5 separate regions of the Homo sapiens genome follow, and regions 2, 3, 4 and 5 are each linked to region 1. Evidence: promoter capture Hi-C in 16 types of primary human blood cells and fetal thymus (Javierre and others, 2016). All regions are on one chromosome and are shown on one strand. The core of a region is centred on a gene start or on the middle of the fragment in contact, and the rest is flanking DNA. Distances in the headings are between cores, read along the strand shown.

The links. Contacts are between HindIII fragments. The CHiCAGO score rates a contact against its expected background, and 5 or more counts as called.
Region 2: a fragment that was not itself captured here is called in contact with the fragment with the promoter of KRABD5 in region 1 in 7 of 17 cell types (neutrophils, M2 macrophages, M1 macrophages and 4 more); the score reaches 10.8 in neutrophils.
Region 3: a contact is called between a fragment that was not itself captured here and the fragment with the promoter of KRABD5 in region 1, in 1 of 17 cell types (M2 macrophages). The highest score is 5.3, in M2 macrophages.
Region 4: a fragment that was not itself captured here is called in contact with the fragment with the promoter of KRABD5 in region 1 in 7 of 17 cell types (M1 macrophages, M2 macrophages, neutrophils and 4 more); the score reaches 7.9 in M1 macrophages.
Region 5: a contact is called between a fragment that was not itself captured here and the fragment with the promoter of KRABD5 in region 1, in 2 of 17 cell types (neutrophils and M0 macrophages). The highest score is 6.9, in neutrophils.

What each region holds. Positions count from the first base shown.
Region 1 is chr16:31,711,129-31,714,506 of GRCh38, reverse strand. KRABD5 (KRAB domain containing 5) reads right to left here and starts at 1,263. Exons shown (of 5, transcript NM_001130913.2): 1 at 1,072-1,263. The coding sequence starts at 1,074. RefSeq lists a silencer at 827-886 and an enhancer at 977-1,096. The HindIII fragment of the contact is 15,701 bases long and covers 1-3,378 here.
Region 2 is chr16:31,806,431-31,809,813 of GRCh38, reverse strand. It overlaps the pseudogene PPP2CBP1 and the pseudogene VN1R3. Among named protein-coding and RNA genes, the nearest start is that of ZNF267, 66 kb to the left of the region's middle. The HindIII fragment of the contact is 1,605 bases long and covers 674-2,278 here.
Region 3 is chr16:31,781,944-31,785,207 of GRCh38, reverse strand. No RefSeq gene overlaps it. Among named protein-coding and RNA genes, the nearest start is that of KRABD5, 70 kb to the right of the region's middle. The HindIII fragment of the contact is 3,489 bases long and covers 1-3,068 here.
Region 4 is chr16:31,586,849-31,589,992 of GRCh38, reverse strand. No RefSeq gene overlaps it. Among named protein-coding and RNA genes, the nearest start is that of LINC02190, 35 kb to the right of the region's middle. The HindIII fragment of the contact is 2,307 bases long and covers 383-2,689 here.
Region 5 is chr16:31,832,797-31,835,802 of GRCh38, reverse strand. No RefSeq gene overlaps it. Among named protein-coding and RNA genes, the nearest start is that of ZNF267, 40 kb to the left of the region's middle. The HindIII fragment of the contact is 6,968 bases long and covers 1-3,006 here.

The DNA.
Region 1 (3,378 bases), core at 14-2,513:
CTCTAAAACCTACCCCAGGATAGCAAACGTCAGACCTTCCTCCACTCTCCTGGCACTGCACGCCTTCTGGGGAGTGCTGCCAATCCTACCTCAACTGAAGGGACAGGAGCAGGTGCCCAGCCAGTCAGATGTTCAGTGACCTAACAGGTTTCAGGAAAATAGCAAAATCACTCAAAACAGTTTTTATAGAAAGGAAGGAAACTGTAAGGCACTTACACTTTATACTTCAACAGGTAAGGCCAAAATACCTCTTTCGAGCAAGAAACATGTCATTTAATTATTTCCATAATAGCAGATCATTTAGTATATGTGAACACTTCTAGGAGGTGCCAAGTCCTGTCTCATAACATTTGGCATTAAAGTCGGACATCCAGATAGCAGTAGAATATGGAACACAGATATCCACTGTCACAAATCCTCCACTGCAAAAGAGAGGACCTGATATTTTAATGAATGTTTGTAATTGACCAATTAATCTAGCACACTTTCTGTGGAAATGTATTCGTTTTCTACAGCCAAAGTGGAAGAGAGATTGTCCCTATTTCTTTTCCCCAGCAGCATTCCTAAGCTGAGCCCTGGGATTTTGAAATCGCTGCTCCAGAGGACCCTAAACCACAAACCACGGCGGCAGGCTTCCCATTTCACCAATCGCTGTTTACCTAAATCAACCCTTTAACGCTTTAAGGGTGACTCCCCTTAATTTGTAAGAGGAAAAAGGAGACTGGGACACCACGGGGCACAGTATCTTCCCACACACGAATCACACGCCGACCCGGGATTTCCCCTAAGACCCTCACGTTCTCACCGCACAATCTCGGGAGACGCCGGGCTGCGGCGACCCAAAGACGGCTCCGGCCATGGCAGAGGTCGCTCTGCGGGGTCGGGAGGGGACCGGACGCGCGGGGTCCCGGCTGCCGGCCCGGCCGCCATCTTGCGGCGGAGGGGACCAAGGGCCGAGTTGCGTCCGCGGGGACTCAGGGCCCAGACCCCGAAGCTAACCTCAAAGAGGGTTCCCGCCGCTTCCGACCGCCCCTCTCCCTCTTCTGGGGACCCCCGACCTGGCACATTCACCATTTCCCAGCTTCCGGGATGTCCTGGCGTCTGAGCTACGGATCTCCCGGTGCCTGCCGGTCACAGAGTAACAGAGGTTCTGTCTATTCTCAGAACGCGAAGCCGCCTTGGCCTCCCAGATGGAAGGACTGGGAGCCCCTGGTGAAGAGACTGAGCTCTTACTGCAGCCAACAAAGGCCACCGCCAAATCCCGGAAGCCGCCCCTGCTCTCCGGCTACTCCCGATTGGAGGATTTCCACTCCGACGCCACTGATTGGGTAAAGCTCCAGGCCCCGCCCTCTCACTCGTTCTGCTTTTTGAATGGGAGACAGGCTCATTGAGGTGGGGCCACCTGCTGAGGGTATTACAGCTAATTTAAGGGGTGAGCTTGGACTTGAAATGCACTTGCTTTCCCGTACCTGGTTTTGCTTGTATAAGGCATCTTATTAGCTAATTAAGTTTAAGAAGGAGGGCATTTGGGCACCTTTAAAACAACTTTTTAACCGTTCTAATAACACAGGAAAGACCCTCATCCCATCCTTAGCACCTCTCATCACACGGTACCCCACTGCTCAGGACATAACTGTGGGACTGCAGAGGAAACTGCTGGGGTTTTTGGGGAGCATGCAGGAGGCTTCAACAGCCAAGGTAACGGTGGCTTCCCTTGGGTGTCACTTAAAATCTTGGGGTCAGGGACATCTTTTATCCAGTTGGCTCAGGGAAACTAACAGACAGGAGGATTGTAATTTTTTTTTTCTTTTCTGAATTTCCAAGACATAAAGGACTATCCAAGCATCCCAAAAGGCATTCAATTATACATAAGGCTGAGGGCCTCCCTGCTCTGGAGAGGGATGGCCTGGCAGCCACCAGCTGCAGTGAGCTGAGATAGTGCCACTGCAATGGGCCTTAAACTTGCCCTCTTGTAGACAGGCCACCTCCACACACCCGCTTCTCACATCGCAGGCTCTAACCCTCCGGTCCATCAAGGTGGGCTGCCTTCTTCCCATGTCATTAGCTCTCCACAAGCATCTAGTTAGCTCTAAAACCTACCACAGGATAGCAAACGTCAGACCCTCCTCCACTCTCCCGGCACTGCACGCCTTCTGGGGAGTGCTGCCAATCCCACCTCAACTGAAGGGACAAATCTGGGCAGGTGCCCAGTCAGATGTTCAGTGACCTAACAGGTCCAGCATGCCCAGGGCCTGACCCCACAGCCTAGCACCCCTCCCCCACCTGGCCTTCAATCCAGCCTTTCTTCTCCAATGACGGGATGTTCACCTGTGCCACAATCCCATTAGTCTAGTGACGAGGCCAGGTAAATCCCAGCTGAGTGCCTGTGACTCCACCCTCTTACTTCCCACTCAGGTGACATTACAAGCATAACCTTGAATTTGAGCTAATTTATACATATTCCTCTCCTAGTAACCTGTTTGACAACAGCCCTCACAATCCAGAGACTGGGGCAGCAGGTTCCAAAACCTCACTTTATTCCAATGTGAAATGAAGACATGATGGTTTAAAAATGAGAAAAAGTTCCTGATAAGCTGTGGGGGTGCTTCACTTGCCAGCTCATGCCCATTCCCTCTGAAACAAGGTGTCTGTTACCCATAAACAACTCTCTGTAAAGCCCCAGGTAGAGGTCACAGCTGGACGTGGCTCCCTCAGGCTCACAGGGTAGCAATCTCCTCCCCCAGTCCAGGCTTCCACAGCAGGCACGGACAGGTGCAGAGAGGGAGTGGCCATGGCCTGTGGGGTCCCCTGCCACCCTCAGAGCTAGTCTCTGCAGAAGGTGCTGTGTGGTAAGCAGCAGGGCTCCACAGAGAGGTGACAACCCTTCCTGTGTCTGCAACCTTTCCCCAGGATCCATGATTCAACCCTGGCTCCCTAGGCCCCTTACCCAGCACACCCTCCGTGTGTCAGGCAGCTCAGGTTAAAATGGGGAGAATGATATATTCCGACTGTAGACCCGAAGGTTCTGTCCATCTGGGGTACAGGGAGTAGGGACGCCAGTCAGAGCCTGTGGTAGCGCCTCCTGCTGGGCCTGAGGGCAGACAGGCCAGGGCTGGGCACAGGGACATCTGGGGGACCACCACTGACAAACCTGTCCCTCTCAGCCTGGAGCTACGGCCAGGCCAATCATGATTAATAAAACCACTGCAGCCTTCATCCTGCCACAAAACTAAAGTGGACCCCAACCCCCAGCCCTGCCACAAAGCTCTGCTCCCCATCTTTTTTGGCTTAAAACTTAGACATTAAGCCAGGTTGGGCCTGGGAGTTGTGGCAGTAAAACCAGCAGCCATAACGTCAACCACGCAAATGAGCTGAGGA
Region 2 (3,383 bases), core at 227-2,726, 95 kb before region 1:
CAGCTAATTTTTGTATTTTTAGTAGAGATGGAGTTTCATCATGTTGGCCAGGCTGGTCTCGAACTCCTGACCTCAAATGATTTGCCCACCTTGGCCTCCCAAAGTGCTGGGATTATAGATGAGAGCCATGGTGCCCAGCCTGAAATAATTTCATTTGATATTTTTGTATTCATAAACAAATACTAAATTTATCTGTAATTCATGACAACCTGTTTCTCCTTTGCACTGTTTTATCTCCTACTCATGTCCCTTGACCCCTTGCTTAGCAACAGTCATTTCTGTATCCTTCTTGGTTAAGATGAGAAAGAATCTTCTTTTTTAATTTCAGCATGAAATCATTTAAGCATTCAATAAATATCATTTGGTCTTGTATGATTATTCTTTTAGGATTATACTAAATCAGTGCATCTATATTCTACTTGGATTTCTGAATCATTATAGGTGATATTTGCTCATGAAATAAGCACTTAGATTTAAATGAGAAATTGCCACAATCAAAAATGAAGAAAAAACTACATCCAGGTTTAAAGAAAGCGACAATATATACAACATGAAATGTGTGAAGCATTAAAAAAATACTATGTCCAAGGGTGAGACACACAGTGATTAAACACATTGTCCAATTTTGATTCTGCCTCTTACAAAGCAGTTACTTTAGAAAATTCATTAAGCTTCCTTGTGTAAGATCTTCTTACCTGTAAAATGGAAATAGTAAAGCACTTATACCACAGAATTATTGTAAAAGTTACATGCAAAACACTAATATAGTACTCCTCTCATGGGGATGCATATGTTCTTCTTTTTAGAGCAAAACTCTTATTTAAAAAACAGGGTCTAATAAGAAAATGTCTAAGTTGGAAACAATGGTAAGTGTACAATAGTGGATTTTATTTGCAAAAGTGAAACTTTATGTTTCCACACAGGGTTCTCTCACTTTGAATGTAATTATCAGTCACTGAAAAATGACAAATGGCCTCCAAGGATTTTGCAATAGGCATGATCTTATTATCTCAGATCATGGTCGGATTCCTGGGGAATTTCTTTCTTCTCTACCACTATAGTTTCCTTTGTTTCACCAGAGGTATGTTACAGTCCACAGATCTGATTCTCAAGCACCTGACCATAGCCAACTCCTTGGTTATACTCTCTAAAGGAATCCCACAAACAATGGCTGCTTTTGGGTTGAAAGATTCCCTCAGTGATATTGGATGCAAATTTGTGTTTTATGTTCACAGAGTGGGCAGGGCTGTGTGCACTGAGTGTCTTCCAGGTCATCACCATCAGCCCCAGTGAATTCAGGTGGGCAGAGCTGAAGCTACATGCTCACAAATACATCAGGTCTTTTATCCTGGTCCTGTGCTGGATTCTGAACACGCTGGTAAATATTACTGTTCTTCTACATGTGACTGGCAAGTGGAACAGCATAAATAGCACAAAGACAAATGATTATGGATATTGTTCTGGAGGAAGTAGGAGCAGAATTCCACATTCATTACATATTGTCTTGTTATCATCCCTTGATGTTTTGTGTTTGGGGCTCATGACCTTGGCCAGTGGCTCCATGGTTTTTATCCTGCACAGGCACAAGCAGCAGGTCCAGCACATTCATGGGACCAACCTCTCCGCCAGATCCTCCCCTGAGTCCAGAGTCACCCAAAGCATCCTGGTCCTGGTGAGCACCTTGTGTTACTTTACTCGCTCTCCTCCATCTTTACATATGTCTCTTTTTCCTAATCCCAGTTGGTGGCTGTTGAACACCTCTGCACTGATCACTGCCTGTTTTCCCATGGTCAGCCCCTTTGTGCTCATGAGCCGCCATCCCAGGATACCCAGGCTGGGCTCTGCCTGCTGTGGAAGGAATCCACAGTTTCCTAAGCTGGTCAGATAGTTCTCCGATTTATGTGGATTGTCTTCTTTTTGTATAATGAATGGCCGTTTGTTGATTTCTTCCTGCAGGTTAAGCACCGCAATGGGCAGTCAATTGCAGTGTATATAAGACTCAGAATCCGTCTTTGCCCTTCAAGGATTTTTCACGTATCATAAACAACAGTTACAGATGAAATGTTTTTGCAAAGTGCTTTCATAATTTTCATTTTGTTTGTAATTTCATAATTTTCATTTTGTTAATGTTGCAATGGAGAAGTTAAGAGGCAAATTATTAATTAAAAATGGGCCTCTAATAAGTTGGAACAATGCAACTTTAAACCAATTAATAAAAAATGTCATGGAATTAACTGGGCACAGCAGTGTAAGAAAAGTTTGATGAAATAAAGAAGCTTAAGTAATGATCAATGAAGAAAGTGAGAAGAAAGTCATAGTTCATGTCCTTTTTTGTTTTGAATTAATCTTCATTTTTTCCTATTTTCAAGTTGTAAAATTTTCTTTTTGTCCTTGATAATTATACTTTATTGAGACTAGTTTTGGTTATTTTTTAAAAATTCTGTCCCTCTATAATTTTTCTGATGTGTAGATCCTGTATTCATGCTTCTTATATTTGTTCGTTTAAAATGAAAAGTTTATTTGCTGACTACACCAAATAGGATGCAAGCACTGTCATGACAGAAATATGCAGCAGATCAACATACAACAGTAATTTAGTTTAAATGAAGGGAAATCTGTAAATGTTACGACAACGTACTCCCAAGAAGAACCCTTTCTTCAGTTAAGTTAATTATACATTTCAATAAAATAAAGGGTAATGGATTAGTGGAAGTTAGCTTGTGAATTTTTCTTAAAAATAAAACTCCAACTCTATTAATCCATGCCAGTTAAACACTGTAACTAAAATTTCCAAATAAGCACAAAAGGAGATGAAGCAATTAGTTACCTTTTCTGCTTGAACGGTCTGGAGGAAAATGGTTACTATAAATACAGCAGGCAAACTGTTAGAGTGACCTATCTAGAACATAGTGTACTAAATTTCAGTCTCAAATTGTACTAAATGCTCATCATTAGTATGGCACATTTGGTCCATGATGTGGTTTAACGCCAAGACAGATCCCAATTTGTTACAGAAACACATAGATTACTGTTGCTTTTTGTTTTTAAATACATATATTTTAATAAGCCAGGTATACTTCCACATACAAAGGCAGGTTTCCCAGGAGAAATTTATAGGAAGTAGTCTGGGGTGTGCTGTGTAACATGAGGCTCGCCACAACAAAGTGCTGGGTCAAACTGAAGGAAGGAATATCTTAAAGCGTCATCTAGTTCCATGATCGCAGCCTGGTTACCACAACAATAACAGTAATTGGGTGCACTGAAAATAGTAACCACATTCTGATCATGACACCAATGGTATCCCTCCATTACAAGCTGGTGGGCACGAGAAACCAGTGTGAGACCATTGGCATGGTTAAAGGTTTCAGAAATGTCTTGTCCAA
Region 3 (3,264 bases), core at 75-2,574, 71 kb before region 1:
TCTTAAAGAACTAAAAATAGAACTACCATTAGCTGCAGCAATCCCACTATTAGGTATATACCCAAAGAGAGATAAATCACTATATTAAAACAAAATCTGCATTCTTATGTTTATTTACAGTGCTATTCACAATAGTCAAGATATGAAAGCAACCTAAGTGTTCATCAACAGATGAATGTATAAATAATGTGGGACATGTACACAATGGGCTATTCAGCTGTAAAAAAGAATAAGATTCTGTCATTTGCAACAACATGTATGGAACTGGAAGTCATCATATTAGGCAAAATAAGCCACGTGCCGAAAGACAAACTTTGCAGGTTCTCACTTACTTGTGGCAGCTAAAAATTAAAGCAATTGAACTCATGGAGACAGAGTAGAATGGTGTTTACCAGAGGCTGAGAATGATATGCACCCCTAGCCCATAATCCACTGATGGTTACCAGTGGGTGGGAGAGTGGGAATAATTGATGCATACAAAAAAATAGAATTAAGATATAGTATTTACTAGCACAAGAGGGTGATTGTAGTCAAAATTAATGTAATTGTACATTTAAAAATAACTACAAGAGTATAATTGAATTGTTTATAACACAAGGAAGAAATGCTTGAGGTGATGAATCCCCATTTACCCTGATGTGATTATTACACATTGTATGTCGGTATCAAAATATTTCGTATACCTCACAGACATATAAACCTACTATGTTACCCAAAAAATTAAAAATAAAAAAATTAAAATGTGGTACACATGTACCACAAAATACTCAGCAATAAAAAATAGAAATCATGTATTTCACAGCAACATGGATGAAACTGGAAGCCATTTTCCTTAGTGAAATAACTCAAGAAGAGAACATTCAATACTGTTTGATCTCATAAGTAGGAGCTAAACAATGGGCACTTATTGACTTATAGAGTGAAATAACAGTCCCTGGAGTCCACGAAAGGTTGGAGGGTGGAAGGAGGGTGAGGGGTGAAAAACGATTCAGCAGAAATTTCACTATTCAGGTGATGAGTATGCTAAAAGCCCAGACATCACCACTATGCAATGTATGCATGTAAGAAACTGGCACTTGTGGCTGGGCCCGGTGGCTCATGCCTGTAATCCCAGCACTTTGGGAGGCCATGGTGGGTGGATCACCTGAGGTCAGAAGTTCGAGACCAGCCTGACCAATATGATGAAACCCCATCTCTACTAAAAATACAAAAATTAGCCAGGCATGGTGGCATGTGCCTGTAGTCCCAGGCTGAGACAAGAGAATCGCTTGAACCCGGGAGGCGGAGGTTGCGGTAAGCCGAGATCACACCATTGCACTCCAGCCTTGGTGACAGAGTGAGACTCCATCTCAAAAAAAAACCAAAAAAACACAAAAAACTAAACCTCTGCTAGGGCAATACGGGAGGAAAATGTGGAATCGGAGCCTTCAAACAGAGTGCCCACTGGGGCATTGCCTAGTGGAGCTGTGAGAATAGTGCCACCATCCTCAAGATCCCAGAAATGGTAGATCCATGGACAGCTTGCACCCTACACCTGGAAAAGCCACAGGCACTCAATGACGGCTTGTGAAAGCAGCCAGGAGGGGGGGCTATACCCTGCAAAGCCAAAGGGGTGGAGCTGCCCAAAGCCATGGGAACTCGTCTCTTGCATTAGTGTGACCTGGATGAGAGACACGGAGTAAAAGGAGATCATTTTGGAGCTTTAAGATTTCACTGCCCTGCTGGATTTCAGACTTGCATGGGGCCTGTAGCCTCTTCATTTTGGCCAATTTCATTCACTTGAAATGGGTGTATTTACCCAATGCCCGTACCCCCGCTGTATCTAGGAAGTAACTAACTTGTTTTTGAATTTACAGGCTCATGGGTGAAAGGGACTTGCCTTGTCCCAGATGAGACTTTGGACTTGGACTTTTGCATTAATGCTGGAATGAGTTAAAACTTTGGGGGACTGCTGGGAAGGCATGATTGTGTTTTGAAATGTGAGGACATGAGATTTGGGAGGGGCCAAGGGCATAATGATATGGTTTGGCTGTGTCCCCACCCAAATCTCATCTTGATTGTAGTTCCCATAATCCCCATGTGTTGTGGGAGTGACCCAGTGGGAGGTAATTGAATCATGGGGTCGGTTACCTCCATGCTCTTCTCATGATAGAGAGTGAGTTCTCACAAGATCTGATGGTTTTGTAAGGAGCTTTCCCCCCTTCATTCCACACTTCTCTATCCTGCCATCATGTGTAGAAGGACGTGTTTGTTTTTTCTTCCACTATGATTTTAAGTATCATGAGGCCTCCCCAGCCTTGTGGAACTGAATCAATTAAAGCTCCTTCCTTTATAAATTAACCAGTCTTGGGAATTTCTTCATAGAAGCATGAGAATTGACTAATACATTTTAATAGATACTTTCTATTGTAACTTAGAGTGTTCAGAAAATATGACATTACATTCCTATCGTTAATTCAATAACAATTTTCCGGCCTAAAGCATACCTTTGTCAGATTTTCCTTTTAAAAATGCACATCCTCTGTTTACTGGTTGAAATGCTGCTGGTTTATTTCTATGACAACTTAGTCAAATTTCTAACAAAATTATGTAACATTCTTTATATTCATTTATTAATTGTACACCAAAAGTCAACTTTTATGATTGCCTTACTGTCACCTGGTATGACTAAAAATATGCCAATTTGTCATTTCCAATGAATCTTTCAATTATTTATTTTTAAACTTTGGGTGTTATGCCTATAAATGTGCCACAGCTTAGTACAGTGTCTAAAACACTGTATGTGGTAAGTAAGTGCTAATCACTTTGAGTCATCAAGTAATCTTTTTTCATGCCATTCCTCAATTACAATAATTTTTTTTGTTCTTATTAAAAATTATGTTTCTGTTCTATCTTAATATAGGTGAAAAAATATGAGGTAGTCTCTATGAGAACCCTCTTCAACAAATCCAAAGTCAAATTTCACAAACAGCTTATATATTCAGTTACGTATTTGTCACAGACAGTAAATATGACTATTTAGGTACGATAATTGTAGTAATAATCTCCATCCTACAACAGAGAAAGCTTTGGGTCATTCACTGATGGGCATAAAGTTTCATTCTTTATTATTATTCTCAGAAAATCCATTGGCATGGAATAAAACAAATTAGAAATAAAAATTATGATAGGCACACATTTTGAAAGTAAACTTAAAAAGTAGATGATATAAAGTCATATAAATGAAAACTAGAATACAGTCATGTGCTGCATAACAATGTTTTA
Region 4 (3,144 bases), core at 287-2,786, 120 kb after region 1:
TTGTTTTGTTTTTTTGTTTTTTTGAGGCAGAGTTGCACTCTTGTTGCGCAGGCTGGAATGCAATGGCGCTATCTCAACTCACCACAACCTCTGCCTCGCAGGTTGAAGCGATTCTCCTGCCTCAGCCTCCCAAGTAGCTGGGATTACAGGCATGTGCCACCATGCCCAGATAATTTTGTATTTTTAGTAGAGAAGGGGTTTCTCCATGTTGGTCAGGCTGGTCTCGAACTCCTGACCTCAGGTGATCTGCCCGCCTCCTCCTCCCAAAGTGCTGGGATTACAGGTGTGAGCCACCGTGCCCCGCTGAATTTTGTTATTACTTTAAGGATTGTGTTTGTGGTTTTTCTTTGCTTTGCATATATATGTGGATTTTGAGAAAGCTTGTCAATTTCTACAAAAACCATAGAAACTATAGTTGAAATTTGAAGGGACTCCATTTAATTTGTAGGTCAATTTTTGGGGTATTCTTTACAATATTATCATTTAACATAGGATGTCTTTGCATTTATTCAGCTCTTTGATTTGTTTTAGCATAAGGAAATCTTCCAGTGTAAAGTCCTTGCACTTGTTTTGTTAAATTTATCCGTGGGAGGGAGGGGTCATGATAGCTGACTAGAAACAGCTGCAGTTGAAGTTTCCCACTGAGAAGAATGAAAACTGCAAGTGAATCCTGCACCAGCACTGAGATACCCAGGTTCTCTCAATGAGACTGACTAGACAGTTGACATGACCCACAGAGAGTGAGGAAAAGTGGGGCAATGCCATGGCCCACCTGAGAACCACACAGGGTAACGGGAGTGCCCAACCCCATCCAAGGGAGGCGGTGAGTGATCCTTCTACCCTGCCTGGGAAACCATTGCTTTTTCCACAGATCTGTACAACCTACAGATCAAGAGATCCCTCTCATGAGCCCACGCCACGAGTTCCTTGGGTTCCAAGCACAGAGCTGTACAGATTCTCAGCAGCCACTTGGCTGGAGACTACCTAAGACTACCTAGTTCTCAGAGAGAGGGGTGGCCATTATCACTGCAGCTGCCTGCTGCCTAAGATGACTGAGCTCCCGGGGGGAGGGGTGGCAGCCATCACTGCAGCTCCAGACTGCCATGTTTTCCCTGCTGGTGCCAGGGAGACTAGACAGTTTGGACCCAGAAGGAATTCCCCACAGTGCAGCACAGCAGCTGTGGCAGATTGTGGCCAGACTGCCTCTTTAGGCCAGACCCTGACCCAGTGCTCCTCACTGAGGGGGAGGAGCCTCCCTAAAGGAATTTTAGCAACTCCAGCCAGGGGTTTAGGGACAGAACTCTGATCCCCCGGGACTGAACGCCTGAGGGGAGGGACAGCCACAGTCTCTTTGGATCAGCCTTATCCGCCTGCTTGTTCTGAGGAATTCAGGCAGTCCAGATGAGTGGGATTCCCCTCAGTGCAGCACACTGACTCTGCCAAGGGGCAGCCAGAATGCTTCGTTAAGTGGGTCCCAGATCCCAACCCTCCTGACTGGATGAGACCACTCCCAACAGAAATTGCCAGACACCTTATATAGGAGAGTTCTTGCTGGCATCAGGTCAGTGCCCCTCTGGGACAGAGATCCCAGAGGGAAGGAGCAGGCAGCTATCTTTACTGTTCTGCAGCCTCCACTGATGACACCTCCAGGTGTGGGAGGAATCCAGGCAAAAGGGTCTGGAGTGGACCCCCAGCAAAACACAGCTGCCCTGTGGAAGAGGGCCCTGACTGTTAAAAGAAAAACAAACAAACAGAAAGCAACAACAATAGCATCAACAAAAAAGTCACCATAAATACCCTGTACAAAGGTCAGGACCCTCAAAGATTGAAGGCAGATAAACTCATGAAGATGAGAAAGAACAAAAATCTCTAAAAACTCAAAAAGCCAGAGGGCCTCTTCTCCCCCACATGATCACAACACCTCTCCAGCAAGGACAAGCAGCTGGGTGGAGGCTGAGATGGATGAATGTACAGAAATAGGCTTCAGGAGGCAGGTAATAGTGAACTTCGCTGAGATAAAGGAGTGTGTTCTAACCCAATGCAAACAAGCTAAGAACCATGATAAATCATAAGGAACCGTTAAACAGAGCAACCAGTTTAGAGAGGAACATAAAAGACCTGATGGACAACACGAGAATGTCAAAATGCAACCACAAGTATCACTAACCACATAGACCAGGCAGAGGGAAGAATTTCAGAGCTTGAAACCTATCTTGCTGAAACAAGATAAGGTTAGAGAAAAAAGAAAGAAAAGGAATGAACAAAACCTAACTATGGAATTATGTAAAAAGACCAAACCTACAACTAATTGGGGTACCTGAAAGCGATGGGGAGAATGGAACCAAGTTGGAGAACATAATTCAGGATATCATCCAGGAGAACTTCCCCAACTCAACAAGACAAGCCAACATTTGAATTCAGAAAATCTAGAGAACTGCAGTAAGATAGCCCATGAGAAGATCAATCCCAAGATACATACTCATCAGATTCTCCAAGGTCAAAATGAAGGAAAAAATGTTAAGGGCAGCCAGAGAAAAAGGTCAGGTCACCTACAAAGGGAAGGCCATTTGACTAATAGCAAACATCTCAGCAGAAACACTGCAAGCCATAAGAGATTGGGGGTCAATGTTCAACATTCTTAAAGAAAAGAATTTTAAATTGAGAATTTAGTATCCAGCCAAACTAAGCTTCATAAGCAAAGGAGAAATAAAATCTTTTTCAGACAAGCAAATGCTGAGGGAATTTGTCACCACTAGGCTTGTCTTGCAAGAGCCCCTGAAGGAAGCACTAAATATGGAAAGGAAAAACTATTACTAGCCACTGCAAAAACACATGGAACTACAAAGACCAATGACACTAAGAAGCAACTATGTCAACAGGTCTGCAAAATAACCAGCTGACATCATTTGACAGGATCAAATTCAAACATAACAATATTAACCTTAAGTGTAAATGGCCTGAATGCCCCAATTTAAAGACACACAATGGCGAGCTGGATAGAGTCAATCAAGATCCATCAGTGTGCTGTATTCAAGAGACAAATCTCACCGTGAAGACACATATAGGCTCAAAATAAAGGGATGGAGGAAAATTTACCAAGCAAATGGAAAGCAGAAAAAAGCAGGGGTTGCAATCCTAGTTTCT
Region 5 (3,006 bases), core at 144-2,643, 120 kb before region 1:
TGTTTATTTTCATACCAGTACCATGCTGTTTTGGTTACCTTAGCCTTATGGTATAATTTGAAGTCAGGCAATGTGATGTGCCCAGCTTTGTTCTTTTTGCTTAGGATTGCTTTGATTACTTTGACTCTTTTTGGTTTCATATGAGTTTTAGTATTGTTTCTTCTAATTCTGTGAAAAATGACATTGGTAGTTTGATAGGAATTGCATTGAGTCTGTAGGTCGCTTTGGGCAGTTTGGTCATTTTGCCTCTATAAATTTTTCTAATTCACAAGCATGGGATTTTTTCCATTTGTTTATGTCAGCTACAATTGCTGTCATCAGTGTTTTGTAGTTTTCCTTCTAGAGATCTTTCACCTCCTCAGTTATGTATGTTCCTAGTATTTTATTATTTTTTGTACCTATTGGAAATGGGATTGCCTTCTTGATTTGATTATCAGCTTGATCGTTATTGGTGTATAGAAATGCTGCTGATTTTTGTATATTGATTTTGTATTCTGAAACTACTGAATTCATTTATCAAATCTAAGAGTTTCTTTGGTGGAGTCTTCAGGTTTTTCTAGATATAAGGTTATATAATCAAAGAATGGGGATAATTTGACTTCTTTTCCAATTTGAATGCCTTTAATTTTTTTCTCTTGTTTGATTACTCTAACTAGGACTTCCAGTACCATGTTGAATGTGTACTGGAATTTTTATATTTTCCCTAAGCTATCCAATTGGTTGGTATACAGATGTTTATAATAGTCCCTTATGATTCTTTTTATATCTGATACATTACTAGTGGAGATAATGTCTCCACTTTCATTTCTGATTTTATTTATTTATGTCTTGTCTATTTTTTCTTTATTAGTCTTGGTAAGTGTTTGTTGATTTTAGTTTTTTAAAAAACAACCCAGTTTTGTTCATTTTTCTATAGCTTTTCCATTCTCTATTTGGTTTGTTTCTGTTTTGATCTTTGTCATTTCCTTCTGCTAATTTTTTTTTTAGTTCTTTGGGGTGTAATGTTACGTTGTCATTTTGATATCTTTCTCTTTTTAAATGTAGGCATTTATCTCCATAAACTTCCCTCTTATCACTGCTTTCATGGCATACTTTGAGTTTTGATATGTATGTTTTCACTTTTGTTCACCACTAGATATTTCAATTCCCTTTTATTTCCGCTCTGAATCAGTAGTTGTTTAAGCACGTGTTACTTAGTCTCCACATATTTGTGAATTATCTTATTTCTTGCTATTATTGATTTCCAGTTTTATACCATTTTGGTCAGAAAAGTACTTGGTGCTACGGTTTGAATGTGTCCCTCAAGAAGCATGTGTTAGAAACTTAATCCCCAATGCAACAGTGTTGGGAGGTGGGGCCTAACGAAAGGTAATTAGGTCATGAGGACTCCACTGTCATGAATGGATTAAAGCTGTTAGCATGGAAACGAGTTCCTTATGTGAGGATGAATTCAGTCCTCCTTTTTCTCTCTTTTTCTCTCTGTCTCTCTCACACATGACTGTGTGTACTCTTTTTTTAATTTATTTTATTTTATTTATTTATTTTTTGAGACAAGGTCTTGCTCTGTCACCCAGGTTGAAGTGCAGTGGTGTGATCTTGGCTACTGCACCTTCAACCTCCTGGACTCAAGTGATCCTCCTGTCTCAGCCCCCCAAGTAGCTGAGACTACAGGTGGGTGCCACCATGCCTGGCTAATTTTTATATTTTTTGAAGAGACAGGGTTTCCCCATGTTGCCCAGGCTGGCCTCAAACACCTGAACTCAAGGGATCCACCCATCTTGGCCTCCGAAAGTGCTGAGATTACAGGTATGAGCCACCATGCCTGGCCCATGTGTGTAGTCTCTTTTCTTTCTGCCTTTCACCATGGAATAGCATGGAAAGAACACCCTTACCATATACTGGTGCCTTTATCTTGGACTTCCCAGATCCAGACTGTGAGAAAATAAATTTCTGTTCTTTATAAATTACCCAGTCTCAGGCATTCTGTTATAGTAGCATGAAACAGACTAAGACATTTGATATAATTTCAATCCTCTTAACCCTTTTCCCATTTAGAAAAAAAAAAGTGCAGGTCACTTCCAGCGCTCATTTAATTTTACATAAACATGCTCTTTGAGACTGAAGCAAATCTGACTGATTTTCAATGTCAAAATAAAATATAAAAACTATTCTTGGAGTTATTTCTAAACAGAACTAACATCAGAATCATCTGAATCATCAGAATAATCTATTTTAGAAAAATAGGATACATCAAATGAATCTTTGATCAACAACTGTTCAAGAATGATGTTAACATCCACATAGGAATGCTACGGTTTCTAGGATTTGACATTTTCAGTGATCGAGAATTACTATATTTTGTAAATGGAAATACCACTACTAAAAACAGAATGCCATAAATAGAATGATATCTTTTGTTTCCAAAGTTGATATACTACAGCGATGAGAAAATAATAATAAAAGCAAGATATTTTGTGGCAAAGTTATCTCTGGGTAAACACTGCAGCCGCAAGCACCACCAGAGAGTATTCTCAGGACAAATAGGAAAAGGGGAAGTCTGTTAAGACATTATTTGTGACCTAACACGTGATCTATCCTGGAGAATGTTGCATGTGTGCTTGAGAAGAATGTGTATTCTTCTGCTGTTGGGTGAAAATTTTGTATATGTCTGTTAAGTTTATTTGGTGTATAGTGTTATTCATGCTTCCTGTTTCTTTATTAATTTTTTGTCTAGATTTTCTACCTACTATTGTATCCAAAGTGGGATATTGAAGTCAGTCTCCTACGATTATCATATTGCTGTCAATTTACCTTTTCATATCTGTCAATATTTGCTTTATATAATTAGGTGCTCTGATGTGTGGTGCACATATATTAATGATTTTTATAACTTCCTGTTGAATTGACCCTTTTATTATAATATAATGACCTTCCTGTAAAGGTTTGCAGAGGTCTCACAATCTCCTTCCATGGAGGATCTGAAGATCTGAATTTTCGGCTGTAGTA